Linked DNA regions of Homo sapiens: region 2 is linked to region 1. The links are contacts of gene promoters, found by promoter capture Hi-C in human tissues and cell types (Jung and others, 2019). All regions are on one chromosome and are shown on one strand. The core of a region is centred on a gene start or on the middle of the fragment in contact, and the rest is flanking DNA. Distances in the headings are between cores, read along the strand shown.

Region 1 (5,000 bases), core at 650-3,149:
TGCCCATTGGCAGCAGAGATGGAACAAGAGAATATTAAACTATTGCTGTGGGCACTAAAAATGGCTGTTTAGTTTGGAAAAACAGCTCAACAGCTCACCTTAAAACAGAGCTTCCCAACCAGTGTATCTTGGCATCAAAAAGGTAACTGATGTGCCATAAAATGTTGATCTCTTCAGTCTCAGAATGGCTGGATGGGGAGGGGGACCTTGGGAGGTGGCTCCTAGCTGGGAGAAGGCTGACTAAGGGTTCCTCAGAGTGTTGACTGGGCTGCATTCGAGTCTGACAGCATAACCTATGATTCCTACAGGAGGCAAGCACAATGGTGGTATTTGCCATGTGCTGGATGGAACCAAGAAGGACTTCAGCAGCCAGCTGAGAATGTAATGCTGTCTTCTGCAGTCAAGAGACCCCTGGAATTGCTGGGAGGGTTGGTGTTCCAGGATGCCTGGGACAAGGCATGCAGCCCAGAGAGCATCCAGCCAGAGTAAAGGTGCCAGAAGGCTAAGTAGGTTGTACTGGAAGAGGTAGCCCACAGTAATAGCTCCAAACCTTAGACTTTGAATAGATCAGGTACTTGTGTGTATTTGTGACTGGTGTGCCCTTTGACCAATGCTGATGACTCCTTTAACCCATGAAGTTTTTGAAGATTAGAGCTTCATTATCCTTTGAAATATTTGATATGAAAGAGAGAGTTTAAATGGATTAAAAACTTATTTTCACTGTACGAGAATATTCAACATTATATTTTTCAATGAAGGAGAAAGAAGAACTGGTGAATTTTTAAAATACTCCAACAGTTGTAAATTACTTGGTTTTCCATTTTCATCCCTCCTTCTTGGACAAAAATCCCCGCTATGGTAATTATCAAGAACACAGATACTGTTTGTATCATTTTTGAAAATTTGATCTGGAAATTTGTGTCATATTTCAAGAATAAAGTCAGAAACAAACAAGTTTTATTTGTAGGATATAGCTCAAATTTTTCCTTAGGATTTTCAAGAAGATATTATTTGTAAGTTTCCGACATATTCAGTATTTAATATTTTCCTTAATGCTATGTGTATCATAGTTATTATATTTATATTACATAAAGGAATGTAAAAAAATTAAAAATATTCTCCCCAAGCCCTTTACAGATATAGACAAATCCCTTCCACATTACTCTAGCATGCTACACTAATATTGTCATTTTTTTCTCAGCGGGCTATGACACGAAAAAATGTTGAAAAGTACTCTCTAAAAACACCTCTGCTACTAGAAAATATTCAACCTTTTTTATTTCAGGCAAGTCAAATGGGTAGGGGGACAGGAAATGGTGTGCTAAGTAGAGGGAACAACTTTGGCAAAAGCAAAAAGGTGAGCGAGCAAGGAAATTCCTGAAACTACAGGAATATTGGAATAACAGAGAGGACCTTCTGTCTCTTTAAGTTGTTGAAGGCACATCGCTTAATTTTGCAGGGCTGGAAAGAAAGGACCAACAGGTAAAAATTAACTGTCACAAAATTAAAATACATATTTGTATTTTATTTATGTGACTTAACACGTGAAATATGCGAAAGTGATGCGAGGCAAGCCCGAATGCTGTGCCCAGCAAAGCCAAAAAGAAGTTCCGAGGGAAGCCAGGTATCCTGGCTGCCCAGCCACTGCCTTTATCCACCAGCTTGACTCTTTCAGATCATCTTCTCAAATTATCCATAGGAGATTTATCCACATACTCAATAAGAAAAATATTTCTAATTATATCCAACCATTCTTAATATGAATGAGAATTATGCGGGGACGCTAGATTGCCAAGAGGTATTTTGCCAAACAATTCCTTTTGACTTAAGAAAGAAGAGGCAGCTGCATTGTTTCCATAGCTATCCATATAAAAGAGCCCTTGGAATGAGGCTGACTCGTCCTGCTTTAAAAAGCTCCAAGGTAAGTGGGAGCAGGACGGGCCTTTCAAGAGGGACACTGGTCACACCGCCCAGTGTCAGCAGCAGCTGCTAGTTCTGGTACTGCTCCTTCTGGAACTGCACGTTTTACCTCTATGAATTTTGTTACTTCTGTTTACAATAGCAAGCCATGCCATAAATGGGATTTTTTCCCCCTCTTTTTGGTCAACTAATCAAGTGCTTTTCCCTTTTCTTTTATAGAACTGTCTCACTCCCAGGCTACATCTTCTCACTTGCTAACAAGGTAAGATTTGGACTAACCAGTTCCTGGAGGAGAATGCAAGAGGCTCTGGGATGGATTTCTGTCACTTAGCAACCTTTCAGAAAGTGCTTGTCTCAGTAAATACCCTTTAACAACTGTGCTTCAGGAAAGCGGTGAGAAAGGGAGGACTGTCCTTTCAGGACAATGCACACATCCTCATTTACGGCTCAAGCATTGGTGGGGTGACATTTGAGCAGGGGAATCGCTTTGAATAAATATATTGTCTGTGCAGGAAAAAAAGAGTCTACCCTCAGATTCCCTGGCTAAAAATCTCAAATTTGATAAAAATGTATCCTGCTGTTAGAATTCATTTAGTAAACATAATGTCCAACAATGTAAAATGGAAGTAAGACAATCCTTTCTTTAAACTTCTTAAAGCCCTTGTAAAAAGTCACCTTACACAATGCCGAGTGCTGTGGCATTTTTCTTATATATAATAGAGGTATTAATCTGCCCTCCCACTACTTACTGCATTTCTAAAGGGAGAGACTAGAAGAGACGATTCAAATGAGTTTCAAGTAATTTGATCATGTAATGACTGCGGTAGAATTATTTGCCAAACCTTTCATTCTACTGATACCACTGGCAACCTACAGATCACATAGAACGGAGCAAACAGGGCCTGCATGCTTCAAAGGAAAATTTGGAATAGTAAAGGGAGCCCTTAGATGTAGAAGAATGAGGTTAACGTTGGCTACTGTTTTTATCCCTAATTAGTTTAAGGGGGTTAAACTGATGAACTGTATTTAATATGCAAAAAATTATGTCAGAGAAACTATACTAAGCACCTAACCTAAAAGAAAAAAAGGTAAACAAAATTATAATCTCCAATAAGCCACTGAACTTCAACAAATCTGGCTGAACAGGTAAAGGAGGAAATAAAGTTCTTCTACATTACATTCAAGACATGGAATTTTGTGACATGATAATTCATGACATCTCATATATAAATGGTGGCCTGAACAATTTCAAATTACTTTCTCAGTCATCATTTAAACCTCTTTTTCAAAGTATCTTCACATATATCATGGGCTGTGAATTTAGAAAGGCAGAATTTATAATCCCTATTCTAAAGATGGAGTCACTTAGGCTCAAAAACATCAAGTGACATACCCAAGGTCACAAGCTACTTGACAGCAGCACTGGACTGTAATTCAGTTCCCAATGAGAATGTGAGTCCTGGAGGATGAAATAAGACAGTGGATGCAAAGCCCTAAATACGGCATTGGGTACACAGAGACCACCTGATGCATTTTCGTTCTTGTGATTATGTTTGTCTCAGTAACTATAGTATGGTGAACAGTAGACCTGTCTAGTGGAATTTCCAACTGGGCCTATGAAATACAATAAATATTAAGATTTATTGGTATACATGGCAATCCAGACTCTCTAATGTGAAAGTTTTATCTCCTTTAGGACCTCTGAGTTCAGCAGCCATGAGTTCAGACTCAGAATTGGCTGTTTTTGGGGAGGCTGCTCCTTTCCTCCGAAAGTCTGAAAGGGAGCGCATTGAGGCCCAGAATAGGCCCTTTGATGCCAAAACATCTGTCTTTGTGGCGGAGCCCAAAGAATCCTTTGTCAAAGGGACCATCCAGAGCAGAGAAGGAGGAAAAGTGACGGTGAAGACTGAGGGAGGAGCGGTGAGTAGAATCCCAGGAGCTTGCCACATTTTATTGATTTTTGTTGTTGTTGTTTGGTCACTCAATTAATGTAAACGGTTATCTTTCCTGTTTACCAGACTCTGACAGTGAAGGATGATCAGGTCTTCCCCATGAACCCTCCCAAATATGACAAGATCGAGGATATGGCCATGATGACTCATCTGCATGAGCCTGCTGTGCTGTACAACCTCAAAGAACGTTATGCAGCCTGGATGATCTACGTGAGTGTCCCCTGCCAGTGCTCTGTATAATCATCCTCATGTACCCTACCATCCTGCTTCTTCCACTGAGCATAAATAGGTCACAGGTAGTGACCCATTTCACTTTCATTGCAGCATAACTAGTTAAAAGGCTTCATGATTGCTATCGTAAAGCACAGCTCAACAGCCAGCACTTCCTTGTTTTCCCATCCAAAGCTGGGGAAGGCCGCTGTCCATGTTGACTAGGTTTGCCCAGAAACCCTTCAATAGGCATTTGAGCAGTTACTACTTATATTTCAATCACAGGTAATTTTCCCCATTCCTTTTCCCCACTCCAGCCGCAGAATCATCCAGAGTGAAAAGATAAACATGTTTTAACACTTTAAACTATTTTAATTTTTTTTTGAGACAGAGTCTTGCTCTGTGTCCCAGGCTGGAGTGCAGTGGTGCGATCTCGGCTCACTGCAACCTCTGCCTCGTGGGTTCAAGCGATTCTTGTGCCTCAGCCTCCAGAGTAGCTGGGATTACAGGCATGTGCCACCATGCCCGGCTATTTTTTTTTTTTTCGTATTTTTTTTAGCAGAGACAGAGTTTCACTATGTTGCCCAGACTGGTCTCGAACTCCTGGGCTCAAATGATCCGCCTGCCTTGGCCTCCCAAAGTGCTGGGATTACAGGCATAAGCCATCATGCCTGGCCTACATTTTTTTTTTTTTTAAAAACAAATTTCACTCATTTTCAATCCCCTGAAATAACAGCAATTTGTATCTGTGTGTTCTGGTCCCTTCTATCTGGAATGTCACCTCCTCGATGAAACCTCTCCCACTTCCCCAAGCAGTGAGATGTTCTGTCCTTTCCTTTCTGTCCCTGCCTTAACACTAACCATGTTTCTCCTTGATCATTCATTTACATGACTGTCTCCTACATAGACTGGGGATTC
Region 2 (5,480 bases), core at 1,659-4,158, 40 kb before region 1:
TCTGCCTTAAATGTGAATTAAGTGAAAATTTAACTATGAATCTTGGACATCGGACTAGGAAGCATGCTATATTGTGATATGAATCACCTGGGGATCTTGTTAAATGCAGATTTTGATTTAGTAGCCTGTGGCATGGCCCAAAATTCTGCATTTCTAATAAACTCCCAGCTGGTGCTGATGCTGCTGGCCCATGGACCTCTGAGTACCACCCGATCGTAGAGGATTCTAAGTAGCACTTTGTCAGAATTTGTCACTGTTTTATAGTCACAGAGTTATAGTCTCTGGTATTTATAAATCCCTTCCATTCCCTCATTTTTTTCTTTATGTGATGAGATAGAAATCTTGAGCCTTTGCTCCTTTGAGGATCTAGAAAAAAGAAACATTTATATGAGCTGAAAACGAATAGAGGATGTTTATAGATAATAATCATTAGCTACTTTTTATTTTTATTTGTTTTGAGACAGAGTCTCACTCTGTCACCCAGGCTGGAGTGCAGTGTTACGATCTCAGCTCACTGTAACCTCCATCTCCCAGGTTCAAGCAATTCTCCTGCCTCACCCTCCTGGGTAGCTGGGATTACAGGTGCCCACCACCACTCCCGGCCAATTTTTGTATTTTTAACTAGAGACAAGGTTTTACCATGTTGGCCAGGCTGGTCTCAAACCCCTGACCTCAGGTGAGCTGCTCACCTCAGCCTCCCAAAGTGCGGGATTACAGGCGTGAGCCACTGCACCCAGCCCATTAGGTACCTATTTTGACTTGAAAAATATTCCTTGTTCAAAATAAATGTCAAAAATTTGATGTAGTGAAAAACTCACTGGAGCAGGAATTAGTAGAAACAGGTACCATTCTATGTCTCTGGGTCACCTTGGAGAGTTGGGTAGCCTCTGTAGGTCCCAGTGTGAAGCGTATGAGGTCCTTCTACATTCTGAAAGACCTCAGCTGTAAGGGGAGAAAAACTTGGAAAGGATAGCAGGAAGGGGCACACAGGACTCTTTGAGGGCAAATACCTTTGCTGGGTGTTTCTTAAACTAGCTGGAGGATACCACGTGTTTATGTTATTATGATTTAAACAACACATATATTCTATATATGTTCTTTGGCATGTATGAATAGTTCATAATACCAACACTTATTTCAAAAGTCAATTGGTGGGCTGGGCACGGTGGCTCACGCCTGTAATCTCAGCACTTTGGGAGGCCAAGGCAGGTGGATCACCTGAGGTCAGGCATTCGAGGCCAGCCTGGCCAACATGGCAAAACCCCATCTCTACTGAAAATACAAAAATTAGCCGGGCGTGGTGGCAGGCACCTGTAATCCCAGCTACTTGGGAGGCTGAGGCAGGAGAATCGCTTGAACTTGGGAGGTGGACGTTGCAGTGAGCTGAGATTGTGCCACTGCACTCCAGCCTGGGGCAGCAAGAGCGAAACTCCATCTCAATAAATAAATAAATAAATAAATGTCAATTGGTGATTCTGTTTTTAGGTTAATGTCTTATTTAATCTGTAAATAGGTCCAGTTGAAATTTCCTATAGAATGTTGATATTTGCCAAACATGTACCTCAGGACATAAGCCTCCGAAGGGGCACTGAAATATCTGTATAAATATATATGTGAGGCCAGGTGCAGTGGCTCATGCCTGTAATCCCAGCACTTTGGGAGGCCGAGGCAGGCAGATCACGAGGTCAGGAGGCTGAGACCATCCTGGCTAACACGGTGAAACCCCGCCTCTACTAAAAATACAAAAATTAGCCGAGCGTGGTGGCGGGCACCTGCAGTCCCAGCTACTCGGGAGGCTGAGGCAGGAGAATGGTGTGAACCCGGGAGGCGGAGCTTGCAGTGAGCCTAGATCCTGCCACTGCACTCCAGCCTGGAAAATAGAGTGAGACTCCATTTCAAAAAAAACAAAAAAACAAAAATATATATATATATGAAAGATATTAGACATTGCAATGTAGCTAATTATCTGCCTATAAATGTAGAATGCAAATCACAATTGAGAGAGATTTGGAATGGAGAACTTCATAGACCTGCAAGGCAGTCCAGCCCTGCCTTAGGGGTCGTGGCTTCAGTGGGGTCCCAATGTAGGCAGAGATTGCATAAATGAGTCCGATGCACAGAATTTTGGGGAGCTTTTCTTACAAAACGACATCTGTTGGCACCCTGGAAACAAGAAATGGGTGTTTCAAGTACACATTTAAGGAGTAAACTTTGACACAGTTTTATACAGGTTATGACCAAGTTCTTATTTCATGTTCCATTCTCAATTACATCCTTTCCCATCACCATAACCACCAGCAAAACAAATAGTAGGGATATTGGAAAAGAAAAGGGCAGTGAGTTTGTAAAACAACCTATGCTCCCTGGTTTGGAAGTGCCTGGTTTTGGATTCTTTTGTTGTTTTTGTTTGAGACAGGGTCTCACTCTGTCACCCAGGCTGGAGTGCAGTGGTGCAACCACAGCTCACTGCAGCCTCAACCTCCTGGGCTCAAGCGATCCTCTCGCCTCAGCCTCCCAAGTAGCTGGGATCACAGGTGCGTGCCACCACACCTGGCTAATTTTTTTGTATTTTTCATAGAGACAGAGTTTCACCACGTTGCTCAAGCTTGAACCCAAACTTCTGGGTTCAAGCAATTCTCCTGCCTCGGCCTCTCAGAGTGCTGCAATTACAGGGGTGAGTCACTGCACCCAGCCCCTCATCTTATATGATGATTCTTCTTCTTGAATTCTTAGCATCTTGTTACATTTGGCTCCTGCCTTTGGGCAAAGAAAAATTCTCTAGATGAACCTGATGGCCCTAGATCTCCCTTCTCCAGTACACAGCATTCAGCAAATAGCATAATTCAACTAATGTGAAGAATTTCAACTCTCGCTCCCCAGTGACAATGGGAGCCTACTATCAGAGAGAGCCCTGAGTGTCGGCATGATGAAAGCACTATCTAAGGGACTAGCAAGAAGAGAACTAGAGAGAACACTGACAAAGTCGAGCTTGGAATGTTAGCAGAACTCCGACCTCCGTCCCTTAAACTGGGAATCCAGAATAGTTCATTGCAATTCCGCTGGAGAATTCCCCATTGATGCTTCTTGCGACAGCAGGTTTTGCTCAGTGAGTAGCTAGAAAAGGCCCACTTTGTACATCATTATGTCAATCATGCTCAGGGTACTCATGCTCAAATAGATATTACGGAAAACTTCTTAGTTCCTAAACAGGTGCTGAATGTCTTAGTACAGCTGCTTATAGTTAAAACTAAGGGTGGTAGTGGCAGAAGAAGAGGATAAATGTTGATAACATGATAATTTTAAGAAGCTGAATAGAGGCCGGGCACCGTGGCTCATGTCTGTGATCCCAGCACTTTGGGAGGCTGAGGCGGGTGGATCACAAGGTCAGGAGATGGTGGCCATCCTGGCTAACACAGTGAAACCCCGTCTCTACTAAAGATACACAAAATTAGCCGGGCATGGTGGTGGCGCCTGTAGTCCCAGCTACTCGGGAGGCTGAGGCAGGAGAATGGCTTGAACCCGGGAGGTGGAGGTTGCAGTGAGCCGAGATCGCACCACTGCACTCCAGCCTGGCGACAGCGCAAGATTCCATCTCAAAATAAATAAATAAATAAATAAATAAGTTGGATAGAAATGAAAAGAATTAGTTTTATATAATTATAAAGGAATCACAAACCACTGGAAAGTGATTTATCCTCTCCTACCAGGTTTAGATGAAAAAGATCCACTTTTCCCTTTGAGTTTCACGTCATAAAAGAATTGACCAATCCAATCGATTTGAAAACTTATGTCCACACAAAAACCTGCACGTGAATGTTGATAACAGCTTTAGGAAATCACTAAAAACTGAAAGCGGTCAAGATATCCCTTAGTAATTAAATGGATAAACAAAGTGTGGTACATGCATACAATGGAGCATTATTGAGTGATAAAAATAAATGAGCTATTGTGTCATGGAAAAAGCATGGAGGAACATTAAATGCATATTGCAAGCGAAAGAAACCAGTCTAAAAAGGATACATACCATATAATTTGAATTATATGACATTCTATAAGAGCCAAAAGTATAGAAAGATTAAAAAAATCAGTGGCTGCCAGAGGCTCAGGAAGAAGGAGTAGAATGTATAGGTGAATGAGGGGATTTTCAGACCAGTGAAACTGTTTGTCTGATACTGTAATGGTAAATAAATGAAATTATGTATTTGTCACAACCCACAGAACTTATAGCACAAAGAATGAACCTTAATATATGCAGACTTTAAGAATGATTTAGGAGGTCAAGGGATCCCAGTAAGGAATGCAGACTATGATAAGAGAATGTAACTATATGACAAATTTATGAAACAATCTTACTGAAGGAGATGGGGAGAAAAGGTGCTGACCTCAGTAGCTCTGGACATAAATGGCATCTGTAAACCTAAAAGAAAAAGGAACTGCATATGAGCACTGTACTCTACTCGATTGTTTCCCAGGGAGGTCCAGGGTAATAATTCTGATACTGCTATGCATGTATATTGGGATTTGAACAACTAAGTAAGTGGAAGGCCAACTATGGAGCCAGGTTTCTCACCCTTGAAGTGGAAGTTTACAGATAAGCGAGGGGAGGAGGCTAGAATGGTCCATGTGGTAATGGATTATAAAGTTCATCACTATGAACTCATGTTGAGCTTAATATAGAGATTGTTATGTACAGACATGTGTATACACATAGGTTTGTATGCACACTTTTATTTCTTTGCTCTGTCAGCTGAAAAGGCCTAAAAGAAATGATACTCCAGTAGCAATGAGCATGCGTAGAGCCCAGGTATTGCCTTCTAAAGCCATTATCCAATAAAGGGATAATGTTTCCTTGGAGAAACAGCTGAATTAATGACTGGGAAGGGAAATATACAAGATGAGCTTGGAGCATCTCGTAGTGCCAGAAAGTAAGAAAGTACTCAAACAAATGAATAAACAAAGAACCTACACACACAATAATGGGGATATGTCAAAGGAGCACAGGAGCTAAATGAAAGAGCCTCTAGGCTGGGCACGGTGGCTCATGCCTGTAATCCCAGCACTCTGGGAGTCCAAGGCAGGTGGATCACCTGAGGTCAGGCGTTCAAGACCAGCCTGGCCAACATGGTGAAGCCCATGTCTACTAAAAATACAAAAATTAGCTGGGTATGGTGGCGGGCACCTGTAATCCCAGCTACTCGGGAGGCAAGGCTGGGGAATGGCTTGAACCCAGGAGGCAGAGTTTGTAGTGAACTGAGATTGCACCACTGCACTCCAGCCTGGGCGACAGAGCCAGATTCCATCTCAAAAAAAATAAGAAAAAAAAGAGCCTCCAGTGGCTAAATATGCAACAATATGAGCAAAAAAAAAAAAAAAAAAGCATTGGATTATAACCAAAAGTATAAAATAAATACTCATGAATCTATACTGATATAAATACATGACTGAATAAATTAATAAATGGCGGAGAAGAGGCAATTCCC

Evidence for each region. Contacts are between HindIII fragments. The study calls those that stand out against the background at their distance.
Region 2: a fragment that was not itself captured here is called in contact with the fragment with the promoter of MYH2 in region 1 in 1 of the 25 tissues and cell types used here (spleen).

The regions. Positions count from the first base shown.
Region 1 is chr17:10,546,557-10,551,556 of GRCh38, reverse strand. MYH2 (myosin heavy chain 2) reads left to right here and starts at 1,899. Exons shown (of 40, transcript NM_017534.6): 1 at 1,899-1,921; 2 at 2,140-2,182; 3 at 3,617-3,840; 4 at 3,939-4,082. The coding sequence starts at 3,637. All of the region lies in intron 2 of MYHAS (myosin heavy chain gene cluster antisense RNA), which reads right to left. The HindIII fragment of the contact is 30,725 bases long and covers 1-5,000 here.
Region 2 is chr17:10,587,326-10,592,805 of GRCh38, reverse strand. It overlaps MYHAS (myosin heavy chain gene cluster antisense RNA), which reads right to left. Exons shown (of 11, transcript NR_125367.1): 4 at 4,383-4,417; 5 at 2,031-2,163. Among named protein-coding and RNA genes, the nearest start is that of MYH2, 40 kb to the right of the region's middle. The HindIII fragment of the contact is 7,023 bases long and covers 1-5,480 here.